2 separate regions of the Homo sapiens genome follow, and region 2 is linked to region 1. Evidence: promoter capture Hi-C in human tissues and cell types (Jung and others, 2019). All regions are on one chromosome and are shown on one strand. The core of a region is centred on a gene start or on the middle of the fragment in contact, and the rest is flanking DNA. Distances in the headings are between cores, read along the strand shown.

Region 1 (4,251 bases), core at 1,090-3,589:
AGAAAACACTAAGAAGCATCTCCTATACCCGTTCCTCAAAAGCAGCGGTTTTTCTCAGGACTAGAGTTTTACACGTAGGACACTGAGGGATGTCACTGAAAATGCCCTGCGACTGTTTCTCCATAAATGCAGACATGGCATGTCACGGGTGTGCTCTAAATGTTCACTGAGTAAATGAACAAGTGATCAAACATCAAAGCTGTTCCTCTAGAGCACTGGCTCTCAACCGGAGGTGACTTTTGTCCCCCAGGTAACATCTGACAATGTCTGGGAACTTGTGTTTCCTGTCAGGGCCAGGGTTTTTTTCGTAATTGTCAGGGCCGGGGGTGCCCCTGACATGCAGCGGGTAAAGGCCAGAGACGCTGCTAAACATTCTACAGTGCACAGGACAGACTCCACAGCAACCAAAATGTAGCCCCAAATGCGAATAGTGGTGAGGTTGAGAAATCCTGTCTAGGGCATGCGGCCAGCTGCTGTATCAAAGGGGTAACTTGAGCCCAGGGAACCAGCTGCAAAATGCTCTTTCTCTTTCCCCTCTCAATTCAGGAGGCCTCATAATTCAGAGCATAAATCTGGATTTAGACCAAATGTAATTTCAGTCATATATCTCTGATGGCAGATCGTTTCCCATGATAATACAGGAATGAGACAGTACTTACCGGCTCGGTGTTAGGCCCATGGTGCTTGATTGCTTGATAATCATTATTGTTATCATGGGCTTATCTTTTAGAATATGGATTGCTTTCTACTAGATATTGGAGGGTTTTCCTATGCATTTCTCCCCTATTAAGCCGAAAACTCCTCAAAGGCCCCACCCCATGTAAATTCCCTGGGTACCCCTCATCTCTAGGGTGTTTGGCAGAGCACCAGCTCACAGTAGGCACTCAGTAAACACAGGACTCTATAAGCTCCATCTTCCTGAGTCTCAGAGTGCAGGGAAGGCCTGCAAACGGGATCACACAGGGAGTATGGCAAGTGTGGCCCCAGTCTCAGCCTAGAAGAGGAACCCCTCTGTCCCATGTCCTCTTCCTGCGCCCTTTCCTATCCCCTCTTCACCCACAGAGGACACACAGCAGTGTTGCAACTCACTTGTGCTCAGAGCACCACCATGCCATCCCTTGGGGGAAGGGAGAGGGCCACTGATTAACTCAGAAAGGGCACAGCTCATCAGGAAAGACACTGCCACTAACAGCCCCAGGGGTCAAGCAAACAAACCTCAAATGGGAGGGGGGGCTGATCCACAGGTGGGCAGCCCCACCAGACTAGGAACCCCTCTGGGGCAGGGTCTGTGTCCCACCTACCTCTCCAAACCTAGCTCCGAGCTGGAGGGGCTCTGAGAATATTTGTCATTGAGTGGGCAAGGGTCCAGGCACCTGGCTCCACAATGTCAGGTTTGCAAATCGGGATTTGAAGGGCAGGTCCACCCCTGAACTGCTCCTGGGTTTCTTCATTATTTGGAATAATGACCTGCCTCACAGGAGTGAGAAGTTTAAATAGAGGTGATAATGATGATGATCGTGGCAATAATAATAACCGGGCGCTGCCTTTGTGCTGGGCACTGTTCAGTGCACTCCCCATGTATTAACTCATTTAATCCTCATAAGACACCTGCCAATTGCCCGGCCAGCATTTGGTTCATTATAAGCACTCTATAAATATGATTATTCCACCTACAAGAAGAAAGGAATCCTTTTTTCTGTCCAACATTTAACTTGAAAAAAAAAAAAAAAAACGGGCGGCGGGGTGTGTGGGGAGCGGAAAAGAGAGAGGTAGAAATCCTGGTAGAAGGAGAGGACTCGGGGAATCCGGGGCGGGATGGGGACACTGAACGTGAGACGAGGGTGGGGAAGTGAGATGTGTGGTGTGCTAAAAATAGAAGGGCCCCTCAGGGGAAGCCAGCAAATTGCGAAGATCCAGTATTAGGAGTGAGGTGAGTGACTACAGAGGCTACTTTCCGAGCGTGGGAACCGGCAGGGCCACCGAGGCACCCTACTCGGTCGCAGGATTCGGGAAGAGGGGTCCCCTCGCTAAAGGAAGGTGACTACCTGAGGGAGGAGGCTAAGGGATCTCAGTGGGAGAAAGGCCTGGGTGGGGGTCGGAGGGGAGCCCCTGAGGAACCCGGCGTTGACCGAGGCAGCTTGGGGGTCCGGCAGGGAGGGAGTGCGGCGCGGGGGACGCCCAGTGACTCTCAGGCTCCCGGGCCCCAGGCGCGCGCTCGGGCCGCCCCGGGCCCCGTGCTCACTCACCCGGCCCCGGTCCAGGGGCGGGACAGCAGGGCGCGGCGGAGCGCGGGCGCCGGCAGCAGCATCTCGGGTTAGAAGCGGGGCTGTTCGCTGGATCGTCCGCCCGGGCGCGGCGAGAATGCACAACCCCGTCCAGAGCGCACCACCTCGATCCTCGGGGGGAAACGGATCACCCCGGCTGTCCTCCGAGCTCGGGATCAGCCAAAGTCCCACTATATTTAGCTTCGGCTAATAAAAAATATTTCTAGTGCCATAACGGGGGCATTACACAACACAGGACAAGGGAACCCGAAAGCGAAGTCCTGAAATGCATGCGTTTTCCCCTCCTCTCTTTATGGTATGACCCGGGAGAGAGGGCGTGAACTCTGTCGACCAGTCAGAGTGACACACCAAAGCTTCTGAACCAATCAGCGGGGCGGTCCTGCGGCAGCCTTCCAAAGCGGAGCAGAGAGGGGCTGAATAGAGCCAATGAGATAACCGAAATGGGACACGTGCTGAAGCGGGGCAGAAGGACTCGCTGCGTCCGGCCCTCTGGCGTGCGCCCCGGGTTCGATGGGAGTCCGACTGACTTCTCTCGGGCTGCCGGTGGCTTGTACAAGGCTGGAAACCTGTCCGCTACCAGACTCCTCGACCCCGCAGGGCCACAGCGCGGCCAGCCCCCTGCTTCTTCCCGGGGGCTGCGGCCCCTGGAATGAGCCTGCCTTCCAGCTTCTTGGCCAGGACCCAGCCGCTCTCCACCTACCCTCCAGGCGCGGGGCCGGCCAGCTTCTTAGCTTCCTTGCAGATTACGATCAATGCAAGATAAAACCTGAGCTGGCCAACGCTTAGCTTTTCATTTAAAGCCTTTGGCCGCAAAACCAGTTGTTCCTGAGCCTTTTACCCCCAAGTAAAAATTTCAGCTTTCTTTGCAAAATGTTGTGTGCTTGGTAAACACTAGAATGCTATTTAAAACTTGGATTCTGAAGTCTTCTCTGATGACGAGGTCTCAGGGACCCAATCTATTCCTAAAGTAATGTTACGTTTCCTTACTCTCTGTTCTAATTTGTTTATATTTCTTCCAGCAGCATGAACCGCGCACCTGCTTAGGAGTCAGTTCCCATGCTGATTTTGGTTCCTCAAGCAGGGCACTAGGCAGACTACATATCCTTTCCGGGCCTCAGTTTCCTCATCTGTAAAACGGAAGTAATAGTACCCAACTCACAAAGCCCCCGTGATCTTAAGCCACTTATTTTTCTCCAGATTACACCATTTGAGGTACTTTGGGAGAATGTAAACATTTAAATGAAGAGTAGGAGAGGGAGATTACCTAAATGCCAAGTATTAGGAATGGCAAAAAGCAAATTGGAATTGGTGGCGGCTATTTGTCTTCACCTTTGGAGAAAACCCTAGACAGGTGGGCTCAGTTCACATTTGGGCAATGTTGCCCTGAACATGCCCATTGACAAGAAAAACTAGAACATTGGTTACTGTCAAATCCAGAGCCTGGGAAGGTGACCTCCTGTGGGCACGTTGGAGAGCCTGGAAAAATGGGGGCTTTGTGGTTAAAAGGACATCAGTTCCAAACCAGGCCAAGCCAGTTACTGAGCCTGTGATGTCTCATGTCCTCTCTTCCCCTTCAGTAAAATGTGTGTAATGATTCCTGCTTTGTCATCTTCCAAAGCTTTTATTGTGAGCTACAAATGTAACAGGTGATATGAAATCCCCTATTTTATGGCTAATTAACTAATGAGTTTGAGGGTTTCTGTGGCCTTCCGTCCTCCTACCCCTCCCCCAACACCAGATTCATCTTCTGTTTAAAAACAAAAACAAAAAAAAGCACCATCAGTTCTAAGACATTTCACTTTATTTAAAAGAAGCCAATATACAGGATATAAAGGGCATGATATTTACAACAGTACAGTAAACAGGTTGGTTTCCGGTAGGATCAGTAGTCTTTCCATGAGTATAAATCCCCCCCTTCCCTGTGATGCTAGACCCAGCTGGCAGACAACAGCAACGGTGGGGCAGG
Region 2 (4,251 bases), core at 464-2,963, 310 kb before region 1:
GTTCATGCTTTCTTCTGTATCTTCCCAGCATTTTTTTCTGCATCTCCATGCAAATAAGAATATAGAGTCTCGGTTGTCCCTCTATTGATACAAAATGTAAAACACTGAACACACTGTCTCTCTCCTTCTAATTTTTTCTCTTAACCATGGTATTCTGTGGTCTAGACAGACCATAATTGAATTAACTAGCCCCTTATTGCAGGGCATGGGCTGTTTTTAGCCATTTGCTAAACATTGTTGTGATGAACAGCCTTATATACAGTTGTCATTTCACACGTGCAAGTATCTCTATAGGATAAATTCCCACAGGGGAGTCGCTCGGTCAGAGACAACATGCGTTTGAAACTTTGATTGATAGTGCCAAGGTGCCCTTAGACATTGTCCCCGCGGTGACATAGGAGAATGTCTACTTCTCCCTCACACTCACCAACAGAAGGCGTCATTTTACATTTGGATGATTGGCAGTTTGATCAGGGAACGTGACATGTGTCTGTAGCTTTAATGGGCATTGATCTTACTATGGGTGAGCTGAACTTCTTTTCCTATCTTCAAGCACTTTTGGATTTTCTTTTCTCTAAATTATCTCTTCACAGCTTTTGCCCATTTTTATTTTGGGTCGTTTGACTTTCTCATCAATTTCCCTAGGTTCTTCAGGAGGGAGATTAACCCTTTACCTCTGATATGAGTTACAAACATTTTGTCCCAGATTGTCATTTTTTTTTTGACTTTGCTCATGATGGGATTTTTTTTTTTAACAAGCAGATTTTTTTTTATTTTTTTATCTATTTATTTTTTATTTTTTTATTTTTGAGACGAAGTCTAGCTCTGTCGCCCAGGCTGGAGTGCAGTGGCGCGCCTCAGCTCACTGCAACCTCCGCTTCCTGGGTTCAAGCAATTCTCCTGCTTCAGCCTCCCTAGTAGCTGGGACTACAGGCCTGCACCACCATGCCCAGCCACTTTTGTATTTTTAGTAGAGACAGGGTTTCGCCATGTTGGCCAGGCTGGTCTCGAACTCCTGACCTCAGGTGATCTGCCTGCCTCAGGCTCCCAAAGTGCTGGGATTACAGGTGTGAGCCACTGCGCCCAGCCAATTTTTATAGAAGTAAATTGATCAGCCAACCATGGTGGTGCGTACCTGTAGTCCCAGCTACTTGGAAGGCTGAGGTGGGAGGATCGCTTGAGGCCAGGAGTTCAAGACCAGCCTGGGCAACCTAGGACTGCCCCATCTCTACAATAAATGAATAAATGAATAAATAAAAATTAGCCAGGCATGGTGGCACATGCCTGTAGTCCCAGCTACAAGGGAGGCTGAGGCGGGAGGATCGCTTGAGGCCAGGAGTTCAAGACCAATCTTGGCAGCATAATGAAGCCGTGTCTTTAAAGAAAAATAAAAAATAAGTAAATTATCCATTTTTAATAGCTTCTAGATTTCTGAGTCATAATTAGAAAGTCCCTCATTTAAAAGTCATAAAGAAACTCTCTGATGTTTCCTTCTAAAATGTTTAAGCTTCATTTTCACACTTAAATTTTTGATTCCTTCAACATTTATTTTAAATATAAAGTAGAAATCCAGATTTTTTTTCCAGGTGTCTTTCCAGTTGTCCAACACCGTTTATTAAATAATTCAGCTTTTCTTTGCTGGTTTGGTATGGTAACCTTACTAACTGTCCATTTAATGTAGGCCTATTTCTGAGTTTTCTTTTATTTTATTGTCTGCTTGACTATTCACGGGTCAAAACCACATTGTTTTAATGATTGAGGCTTCATAATATGGGTTGGTCCTTCCCCCGAGCACCCTCTTTTTCCAGAATTTTCCTGTCTATGCCTACTGGTTAATTTTTCATACGAACTTTAGGATAAGCATGCCTCATTCAACAAAAACTGTGGATATTTTTTATCAGAATCAAAGTATATTTATCAATTAGCTGAGAGAGAATTAAAATGTCACGGTGTTGAGCCCCGCCGCTCCCCCCCTCCGCCACAATACGATGTATCTTTCCACTTGTTCACATTCTTCTGCCTTTTAGTAATTTTGTTAATTAAAATGCTTATTGAAATAGAACATGTATACAGGAAAGTCACAAATCATAAAGGAACAGCACTGTGAATTTTCACAAAGCAAGCACCCCCGTGAAATAGCTACTCAGATTGAGAACCGGAACGTGACCAGCTCCCCAGAGCCCTCCTCCTTCTCCTCCTGGTGATCATACCTCTCCTCCCAAAAGGAAACACCTTTCCCATTTCTATTAGGTTGGCGCAAAAGTAATCGCGGTTTTTGCCATTAAAAGTAATTTGCCATTAAAAGTAATGTCATTACTTTTAATGGCAAAAACCGCGATTACTTTTGCATCAAACTAATATCCTGTATTGTCTGTTTTTATTTATTTGTTTGTTTTTATATAACTTTAAGTTTTAGGGTACATGTGCACAACCTGCAGGTTTGTTACATATGTATACATGTGCCATGTTGGTGTGCTGCACCCATTAACTCGTCATTTACATTAGGTATATCTCCTAATGCTATCCCTCCCCCCTCCCCCCTCCCCCCACCCCACGACAGGCCCGGGTGTGTGATGTTCCCCTTCCTGTGTCCAAGTGTTCTCATTGTTCAATTCCCACCTATGAGTGAGAACATGCAGTGCTTGGTTTTTTGTCCTTGCGATAGTTTGCTGAGAATGATGGTTTCCAGCTTCATCCATGTCCCTACAAAGGACATGAACTCATCCTTTCTTATGGCTGCATAGTATTCCATGGTGTATATATCCCACATTTTCTTAATCCAGTCTATCGTTGATGGACATTTGGGTTGGTTTCAAGTCTTTGCTATGGTGAATAGTGCTGCAATAAACATACGTGTGCATGTGTCTTTATAGCAGCATGATTTATAATCCTCTGGGTATATACCCAGTAATGGGATGGCTGGGTCAAATGGTATTTCTAGTTCTAGATCCTTGAGGAATCTCCACACTGTCTTCCACAATGGTTGAACTAGTTTACAGTCCCACCAACAGTGAAAAAGTGTTCCTATTTCTCCACATCCTCTCCAGCATCTGTTGTTTCCTGACTTTTTAATGATCGCCATTCTAACTAGTGTGAGATGGCATCTCATTGTGGTTTTGATTTGCATTTCTCTGATGGCCAGTGATGATGAGCATTTTTTCACGTTGTAATGTAAATCAAAACATATGTAAAGACAAATAATGAAAAAAAATGGGAAAAAAAGTTTAAAAAAATATGTGCTCTTTTTTTACAATTTTTTTTTTTGAAACAGTGTCTTGCTCTGTCACCCAGGCTGGAGGGCAGCAGCACCATCACAGCTCACTGCAGCCTCAACCTCCCAGGCTCAGCCTACCAAGTAGCTGGGACTGCCTCATCCTCCCACCTCAGCCTACCAAGTAGCTGCAGCTACAGGTGTGCACCACCACACCCAGCTAATTCGTTTTTTCTTCTTCTTCTTCTTCTTCTTCTTCTTCTCCTTCTCCTTCTCCTTCTCCTTCTCCTTCTTCTTCTTTTTTGAGACAGAGTCTCGCTTTGTTGCCCAGGCTGGAGTGCAGTGGTGAGATCTCGGCTCACCGCAACCTCTGCCTCCAGGGTTCAGGTGATTCTCCTGTCTCAGCCTCCCGAGTAGCTGGGATTACAGGCGCATGCCCAGCTAATTTTTTTGTATTTTTAGTAAAGACGGGATTTCACCGTGTTAGCCAGGATGGTCTAGATCTCCTGACCTCGTGATCCGCCCACCTCGGCCTCCCAAAGTGCTGGGATTACAGGCATGAGCCACCGCGCCCAGCCATACCCAGCTAATTTTTGTATTTTTTGCAGAGACGAGGTTTCACCATGTTGCCCAGGCTGGTCTCAAATTTCTGGGCTCAAGCAATCCACCTGCCTCACCCAGCCTCCCAAAGTGCTGGGATTACAGGCATGAGCCACTGTACTGGACCCACATGTGCTCTTTGGTGTCTGACTTCTTTCACTCAACACTGTGTAAGATCCATCCTTGCTGTGATGCACAGCAGTACTTTGTCCATCTTAATCACTGTAGAGTTTTTCATTGTCTGACTATATTACAATGTGTTCAAGCATTCTACTGCTGATGGATATTTGGGCTATTAGGAATACTGTTATGGAATTAATAATATTACTAATAATTAGTAATAGGAATTAGGTTGGGCATGGCGGCTCACGTCTATAATCCCAACACTATGGGAGGCCGAAGTGGGAGGATCACTTGAGGCAAGGAGTTTGAGACTAGCT

The links. Contacts are between HindIII fragments. The study calls those that stand out against the background at their distance.
Region 2: a contact is called between a fragment that was not itself captured here and the fragment with the promoter of ALDH4A1 in region 1, in 2 of the 25 tissues and cell types used here (adrenal gland and mesendoderm cells).

The regions. Positions count from the first base shown.
Region 1 is chr1:18,900,216-18,904,466 of GRCh38, forward strand. It overlaps ALDH4A1 (aldehyde dehydrogenase 4 family member A1), which reads right to left and starts at 2,340. Exons shown (of 15, transcript NM_003748.4): 1 at 2,247-2,340. The coding sequence starts at 2,308. LOC124903866 (a long non-coding RNA gene) reads left to right here and starts at 1,898. Exons shown (of 2, transcript XR_007065519.1): 1 at 1,898-2,037; 2 at 2,595-3,156. It overlaps IFFO2 (intermediate filament family orphan 2), which reads right to left. Exons shown (of 9, transcript NM_001136265.2): 9 at 4,065-4,251. RefSeq lists a silencer at 2,107-2,326 and enhancers at 2,407-2,636, 2,576-3,393. The HindIII fragment of the contact is 12,356 bases long and covers 1-3,270 here.
Region 2 is chr1:18,587,848-18,592,098 of GRCh38, forward strand. No RefSeq gene overlaps it. Among named protein-coding and RNA genes, the nearest start is that of PAX7, 41 kb to the right of the region's middle. The HindIII fragment of the contact is 9,422 bases long and covers 1-4,251 here.